2 separate regions of the Homo sapiens genome follow, and region 2 is linked to region 1. The links are contacts of gene promoters, found by promoter capture Hi-C in blood cells and fetal thymus (Javierre and others, 2016). All regions are on one chromosome and are shown on one strand. Each heading gives the region's core, a stretch centred on a gene start or on the middle of the fragment in contact. The rest is flanking DNA. Distances are from core to core; before and after follow the strand shown. Region 1 holds the start of NCOR2 (nuclear receptor corepressor 2). Region 2 overlaps LOC105370050 (a long non-coding RNA gene).

The links. The method cuts DNA at HindIII sites, captures the fragments that hold promoters and counts their contacts. A CHiCAGO score of 5 or more calls a contact.
Region 2: a contact is called between a fragment that was not itself captured here and the fragment with the promoter of NCOR2 in region 1, in 1 of 17 cell types (monocytes). The highest score is 9.7, in monocytes.

The regions. Positions count from the first base shown.
Region 1 is chr12:124,565,651-124,569,053 of GRCh38, reverse strand. It overlaps NCOR2 (nuclear receptor corepressor 2), which reads left to right and starts at 1,442. Exons shown (of 49, transcript NM_006312.6): 1 at 1,442-1,746. RefSeq lists enhancers at 1-850, 1,017-1,066 and silencers at 1,187-1,436, 1,547-1,906, 1,927-2,036, 2,177-2,396, 2,597-2,696. The HindIII fragment of the contact is 7,570 bases long and covers 1-3,403 here.
Region 2 is chr12:124,865,702-124,868,914 of GRCh38, reverse strand. LOC105370050 (a long non-coding RNA gene) reads right to left here. Exons shown (of 3, transcript XR_945488.3): 2 at 2,239-2,317. Among named protein-coding and RNA genes, the nearest start is that of SCARB1, 3.4 kb to the right of the region's middle. RefSeq lists enhancers at 1,219-2,418, 2,847-3,016. The HindIII fragment of the contact is 4,035 bases long and covers 1-3,213 here.

The DNA.
Region 1 (3,403 bases), core at 193-2,692:
ACTTCCCTTTTGCCAGACATTGTCAGCCCCAGAGGCTCCCGCCAGCCCCCCAAAAGCTCATAATTAAAAGCCCGAGGGGGCAGAGAAGGACCTGGCTGCAGGGGAGCCCGGCAAACCCAGCATCCTGGCGGAGGCGGGAGGCCCGCCGGCCTCTGGAAACCACGCGGCTGCCTCCCCACCGCAGCCATTCCCCGCTCTCCCTGGGGGTTCTCAGATGTTGCCAGATGGCAGAACTGAATCTGCTGAGACGTCACTCCAAAAAAGGAAAGTTGAACTGAAAAAAAAAAAAAAAATTCAAACTCTCCAACATCTTAGGAGAAAGCAGAAGAGGAGGGAGGGAGGGAGGCTCCAGGCCCAGGGCTCCCAGTGCCCTCTGCTGTTCAAAGAGATCTGCCCTGGTTGGAGAGGGCAAACCTGGAGGGGGTGGGAGGAGGGGGTAAATGAGGACACTGGGTTGTCAGGGCGGCCAGGGGGGCCAGGTTCCTGCTGGAGCGGAGAGTGTCTGCCTGTGCGTGGGGGAGCGAGCACATGTGTGCCGTCTGTGACTGCGTGCTTGTGCAGGCCGGGCGTGTGTGGCTCCCAGGGTCACGCTTTGGGATGTGTGTGTCTGTGTGTGTGTGTGGGGGGGGCGGGGGGGACACAGGCTCGTTGCATTGTCTCCGCATTTGTGTCCCTGAATGTCCCCAAGTGGGACTTCACTCAACACATTCGTGAGTCCCTACTGCGATAGGGCAGTGAACAAAATAGAAATCTCTGCCCTCAGGAAACTGGCATTCTAGCGTCTGTGTCCTCCGGGGTGCTGTGAACTCGCGTGGGTGTCCCAGTATTTGTCTGTGTGAGATCTGACATCTCCGGTCCGTGGTGGGTGGTGAGTCTGCAGTGTGTTCGCCCGGGCTGGGTCTCGGGTCTGGGGAGGCCCAGCGTGTTCCTGCCTGGAGAGGGCTCTGCGCTACTGTCTGCTCCCGTCCCCAAGTGCCCCACTGGGCGTGCTCCTAAAAGGCCCTGTGTAGGGCCCTCCCTGCGCGCCCCCTCCCCATCCAGCGGCCACTCCAGAGTTATAATTTAATAGCTGAAACGCGATTCCAGTGAGGTACTGGGGCTGGAGAGGAGGAGGAGGGCCCCCGGGCCCGCAGGAGAAGAGGGAGGGGAAGGCTGGGAGGCGCTTCCCCCCTCCTTCCTCCTCGGGGAGCTGCCAAAAAGAAACTCGGCGTCGCGCCCAAGTGTGTGCGTGCGTGTCTGTGTGTGTGGCGGCGTGCGCGCGCGAGTGGGGACGCGCAGGGCCTGGAGAGAAGGCGCGGGCCCTTTAAGGAGCCAGAGGGGGCCGGGCCGGGGCGCGTCGCTGCGGGCGGGGAGCCGGGAGCAGGGAGGCCGAGCCACCGCCTCCCGGGCTCGCGCCCCGCCCCCTCCTCCCCCTCCCGCCGCCGCCGCCGCCGCCGCCGCCGCCACCGCCGCCGCGGCCGCCGGGGAGCGCGGAGCCGCGGGCAGGCCGGGCCGCACCGGAGCCCCGCGTCCGCCGGCGCCCCGCCCGAGCCCTGCGCCCGCGCCCTGCGCTCCGCGATGCGCGCCAACTTGCGGGCCGGGGACCCAGGGCCGGCGCCCTAGGAGGCGGCGGCGGGAGGATCGCGTCCCGACCCGAGGCCGGGCCTGCTGCGCGCCCCCAGCCCGATCGGCACCGCCACTTGCCTGAGCGCCCCGGCGGCCCGAGCGCGCCCCAAGCCCGGGCGCCACCGCTGCCACCTCCGCGAGGTGAGTTGGGGCCGAGGGTCCCCGCGAAGGGCGGGGGGAGGCGCGGAGCGCGCTTCCGGGGGATCCGGGGAGGATCGGGCGGCGCACGCGGCGGAGTTGGCGGGGCCCCTGCACTCCCGAGTTGGCGCTCTCGGGGGGTGGCCTGCTGGGGAGCAAGGCGCCCCGCCGACACTGCGGCCCGCGTGCTCGGGGGCGCCGGGGAACTTAGGGGAACTCCAGCTCCCTAGCGAGGGGGCGGGAAGGAGGGAAGTGGCGTTGGGGTGGGCGGGGGGCGCGCTGGAAATGCACAGAGCGGCCCCCCACAGTGTGCGCCGGCTCTGGGGACTTGGCCGCCAGGCGTCCCTTGTACCCGGTGTAGCCCCGGACCTGGCGGGGCGACACTGCGCCTTATTTTCCATCGGGCAGCGCGGGTTTGAAAGCCCTTGGAGATGGTACCCCTAGCTCCCTGGCCTGGCTGTTGTGGAGGGGCGCATGAGGGTCTCTCACCAGCCGAGGGGGAGAGCCAGCCTTGTCCCTCCTAGGCGTGGGGCCACGGGGCGCTGGGCGGGGTCCCTCGGGAGAGTCGCCCCTGGTCCCCCTCCCCCGCGGGCCGGTGTTCCTGGTGTCTGGGCCTGCCTCCCGTGGCTGGTGACGCCTCATTGGGCCGCCTCCTAGTCCCTCCCCCGGGCTGTGCGGATACTTGGGATGCCACTACTTTGCGAAGTTGGAATTCAGAGCTGATCCCACTTGGGCACGACTGGGAAGACCCAGACCCTTGTCTAGAGGGCAGCTTCCTCAGAGGCCTGCGGGGAGTGAGGGCACCCGTGGGGTACGCCCTCCCCGCCCCAGACACTTGCAGGAGGAGCAAGCCGAGGGCGGGAGGGCACGGCGGGCGGGAGGGAGAGACAGGCTGTACCTGGGAGCTGCTGTCGCCCGGGCCCAATTAGCGTGGGGCGCCCGGCGTTATTTTTACATTGTAGGTTTATTTTTTTGGAAGCGAGTGTCCTCCCGCCGCCTGTCGCGCGCTCCGGCTCTCCGAGGGTCTGGTGCAGGCAGCGGGGGCGGATCTGTTCTGTCGGCTCAGCCTCCTCCCTTCCTCCCCCTCCTCCTCTCCCCCGTTGGTGAGAACTGGTTTTATTGTGATTATTATTATTTTTCCCTTTTTGCAGATTTGGAGGAAGGATGTGTGAGGGAGGGAAGAGGGGAGGAGGGGATAAGGGGAGGACCCTGTGGGCGGGGTGGGGGAGTTCTGGGCGCGTTGGGATGTGTTACCGGTGGCCTTGACTTTGCCCCTTTTCAGCCAGATCTGGGTCCTTGCGGCAGCTTTGATATAAGGGGCTCTCCGGGCCAGACTGCGCCGGGAGGGCGACCCGGGGCAGGCTGTGTACCTCGTGGGTGGCCTCTTTGGGGGTGCTGAGGAGGGGCCGAGAAATGGCAAGCAGCAGTGAGGTGGGATGGCCCACTCTGCACCTCAGCTCCTGGGGTTTGACTCTGACCTTTGCCACTTTCCTGGCAGTGTGACCCTGGACAGATGCTTAACTTCTCTGTGCCTGTCAGGTTTCCCATCTGCAAAATGAGGGTCAAAATGGTACTGAGTTCACAGAGTGGTTGTGAGAGCTGACCGTCCGGCCATAAGAATCCCTTGGTACTTGTATGTGTTACTATGACTACTGTGTCG
Region 2 (3,213 bases), core at 504-3,003, 300 kb before region 1:
GGTGGGCAGGAAGGAAGTCATTGCTGAGAAGATGGCATTGGAGCAAGGACCTGAAGGAAGGGAGGGTGAGTCTCCTGGGTGTTAGGGAGAGGAGCATTCCAGGAGGGGACCAGGGAGTGCAAAGGTTCTGGGGCACGAGCCGGGCAACAGGTGGAGGAGCTCCAGGGAGGAGGATGTGGCTGGAGCAGAGTGGGCAAGGAGAGGGAGGGGGATGAGGTCAGGGAGATGTGCCCATCTGGGTGCGTTTTGACTTTGTCTCTCTAGTATGAGATGTGGTGATCTTGTGGGCCATGGTGAGGGCTTTGGCTTTTATGCTGAATGAGGTGGGAGCCACGGAAAGGTTTCTTTCTTTTTGTTTTCTTGAGAGACAGGGTCTCACTGTGTTGCCCAGGCTGGAGTGCAGTGACACAATCACAGCTCACTCACTGCAGCCTCGACTTCCTGGGCTCACGTGATTCTCCCACCTCAGCCTCCTCAGTAGCTGAAACTAGAGGTGTGTGCCACTTTACCTGGCTAACTTTTTATTTTTTGTAGAGATGGTGTCTGGCTGTGTTGCCCAGGCTGATCTCGAACTCCTGGCCTCAAGGGATCCTCCTGCCTCAGCCTCCAAAAGCACTGGGATTATAGGCATGGGCCACCATGCCTGGCCATTTCTTTAAAATAACAGTTTTCATTGAGATATAATTTGCATATCATACATTCACCCATTTAAAGTATATAATTTGGCCAGGCATGATGGCTCACACTTGTAATCCCAGCGCTTTGGGAGGCCAGGGTGGGAGGATGACCAGAATTTTGAGAGCAGCCTGGGCAACAAAGTGAGACCCTGTCTCAACAAAAATGAAAACATCAGGTGTACATAGTGGCATATACTTGTTGTCCAAGCTAGTCAGGAGGCCGAGGCGGGAGGATGGTTTGAACCCAAGACTTCAAGACTGCACTCCAGCCTGGGTGACAGAGTGAGACCCTGTCTCTTGAAAAAAAGAAAAAGTAAATAAAGTGTGTAATTTGATGGTTTTTTGTATATTCACGGAGTTGTGCAACCATCATTACCATCACTTTTACCGTCACTTTTAGAACATTTTCACCACTCCAAGATGAAACCCCAAACCTGTAGCAGTCACTCCTCATTCTCCCCAGCCCCTGGCAACCACTGGTCTACTTTTTGTCCCCATAGATGTGCCTACTATGGACATTTTATATAAGCAGAATCATACATGTGGCCTTTGTGTCTGGCTTCTTTCACTTATCAATGTTTTCAAGGTTCATCCATGGTGTAGCACGCGTCAGCCCTTCATTCCTTTTTATGCTGAGTCATATTCCAGTGCGTGGTTATGCCACATTTTATTTACCTATTCACCAGCTGATGGGGGTGTGGGTTATTTTCACTGCTTGGCTGCTGTGAACATTTGTGTCCAGGCTTCCGTGTGGACATGCTCTTTCCTTTCTCCTGGGCATATACCCAGGAGTGGAACTGCTGGGTCTTAGGGGACCCCTATGTTTACCTTTTGAGGCTGCACCATTTTACAATCCCACAAGCACCTCAAGAGGCTTCCAACTCCTCCAGGTCTTTGCCTGCAGTCATTCTCCGTCTTTGATCACGAAAGGACTCTGAGCAGAGGAGGAAAAGCATCTGACTTGATTTTCCAGGAGCCCTGTGACACCATGTTGATCATATTTTGTTATCAGCACTCTTTCTTTTCTTCTGTATCTTCGACTTTCCCCAGGGCAAGACCTCTCTCTCAAACATGACGAAGTCTTTTTTTCCCTTCTTAAGCTGCCCTCCCTGCCACCGGAAGTGACTCCCCTCAGCAAGGCCAAGGTGGCTCACGTGTCCCATCACCCTTTCATCTCTGCCCTTCTCTCTCGAGTGACAGCATGGCGTGACATGAGGGCTCTCCAGCCATGGCCTTGCAGCCCTCTTGGGTAAGCATCACGTACATTTGGACCTTGAAGACTTGGTCATGAATCAGAGTTAGATTGGGTGAGATGGTCAAGGCAGGTCAGTATCAAGGAAGTGGAGGAGGGTGTCAGGGCCAGGCAGACCGCAGATTTTAGTTAACTGGCTAATTTCCGAGAACTACAAAAGTCATTAAAAAAAAAGGCAACTGCATAGCTGAAGGCTGTTGAAGGCCTTAAGGAATTCAATGAAGTGATATTAATTAATTAATCAATCGATCAGTTACTTGATTAATTAATGAGTTAATTAGCTGATTGAGTAAAGTATTTATTGAGTACCTGCTATGTGCCAGGCATTTTTCCAGGTGCTGGAGATACATCGATAAGCAAAACAGGGTCAGCTTCTGTCTCTCGGGAGCTGGAGGAGATGAACAAGGAAACAGATAAGACCATTTCACACAAAGCAAGGTGGCCTGACAGAGTGGGCTGGGACTCCTGTTTTCAACAGATGCAACAGCAAAGGCTTCTCTGAGGAGTGGGTTTCAGCTGAGCCCAGAAGAGGAGAGTGGGGAGCCATGGAAGGATCTAGGGGAAGCGTATCCTAGACAGAGGAACAGGAAGTGCAAAGTTCCTGACACAAGAAAAAGCTGGGGATGCTCAATGAACTGAAACAATGGGGGAGAGGGCAGGAGATGGAGGCAGAGAGATGGGCAGGCGCCAGTTCATGTGGGTCCGGAAAATAACGACGACACTCCCCAGCTCAGTTGCACTGACACATTCCAGGGACTGTTCTAAGCACTGGCACATTTTTTGACTTGTTTAATCCTCATGGTAGCCCTTGGAAAGGGGCTCTTCTAATCCCCGTTTCGTAGATGAGGAGACTGAGGCACAGAAAGGCCCAAACCACTTGCCCCAGGACTCCAATGTGGGAAACCCCAGAGCCTGGATTTCTCTGAACCTGTCCCCCGGGGCTACCACAGTCTCACCTCAGCCACTCTGACCTCCCTCAGGAGTTGGGCCCTGCCCCTTGGGGCACTGGACCATATTCGGCCTCCTTAGAGGAAGGCAGTGCCAGGCAAAGCTGTCTAACGAGAACATAGCAGGTGCTCTGTAAATATTGGTTCAGGCGAAGACATGTTGCTTAAGGATGGCCCTGCGAGAAGGCTGCTTTCTTCTGGAGTTAAATAAGAGGTTTAGAAAGCCTCCCTCGGAGCACTCAAGGACTGAGCCTGCCTTACCCACGTGCTGGGGACACCACCCTCCTGTCCCTGTGTAACCCAGGAGTCTCTTCTCAGTAACTTCATTCAGAAAATG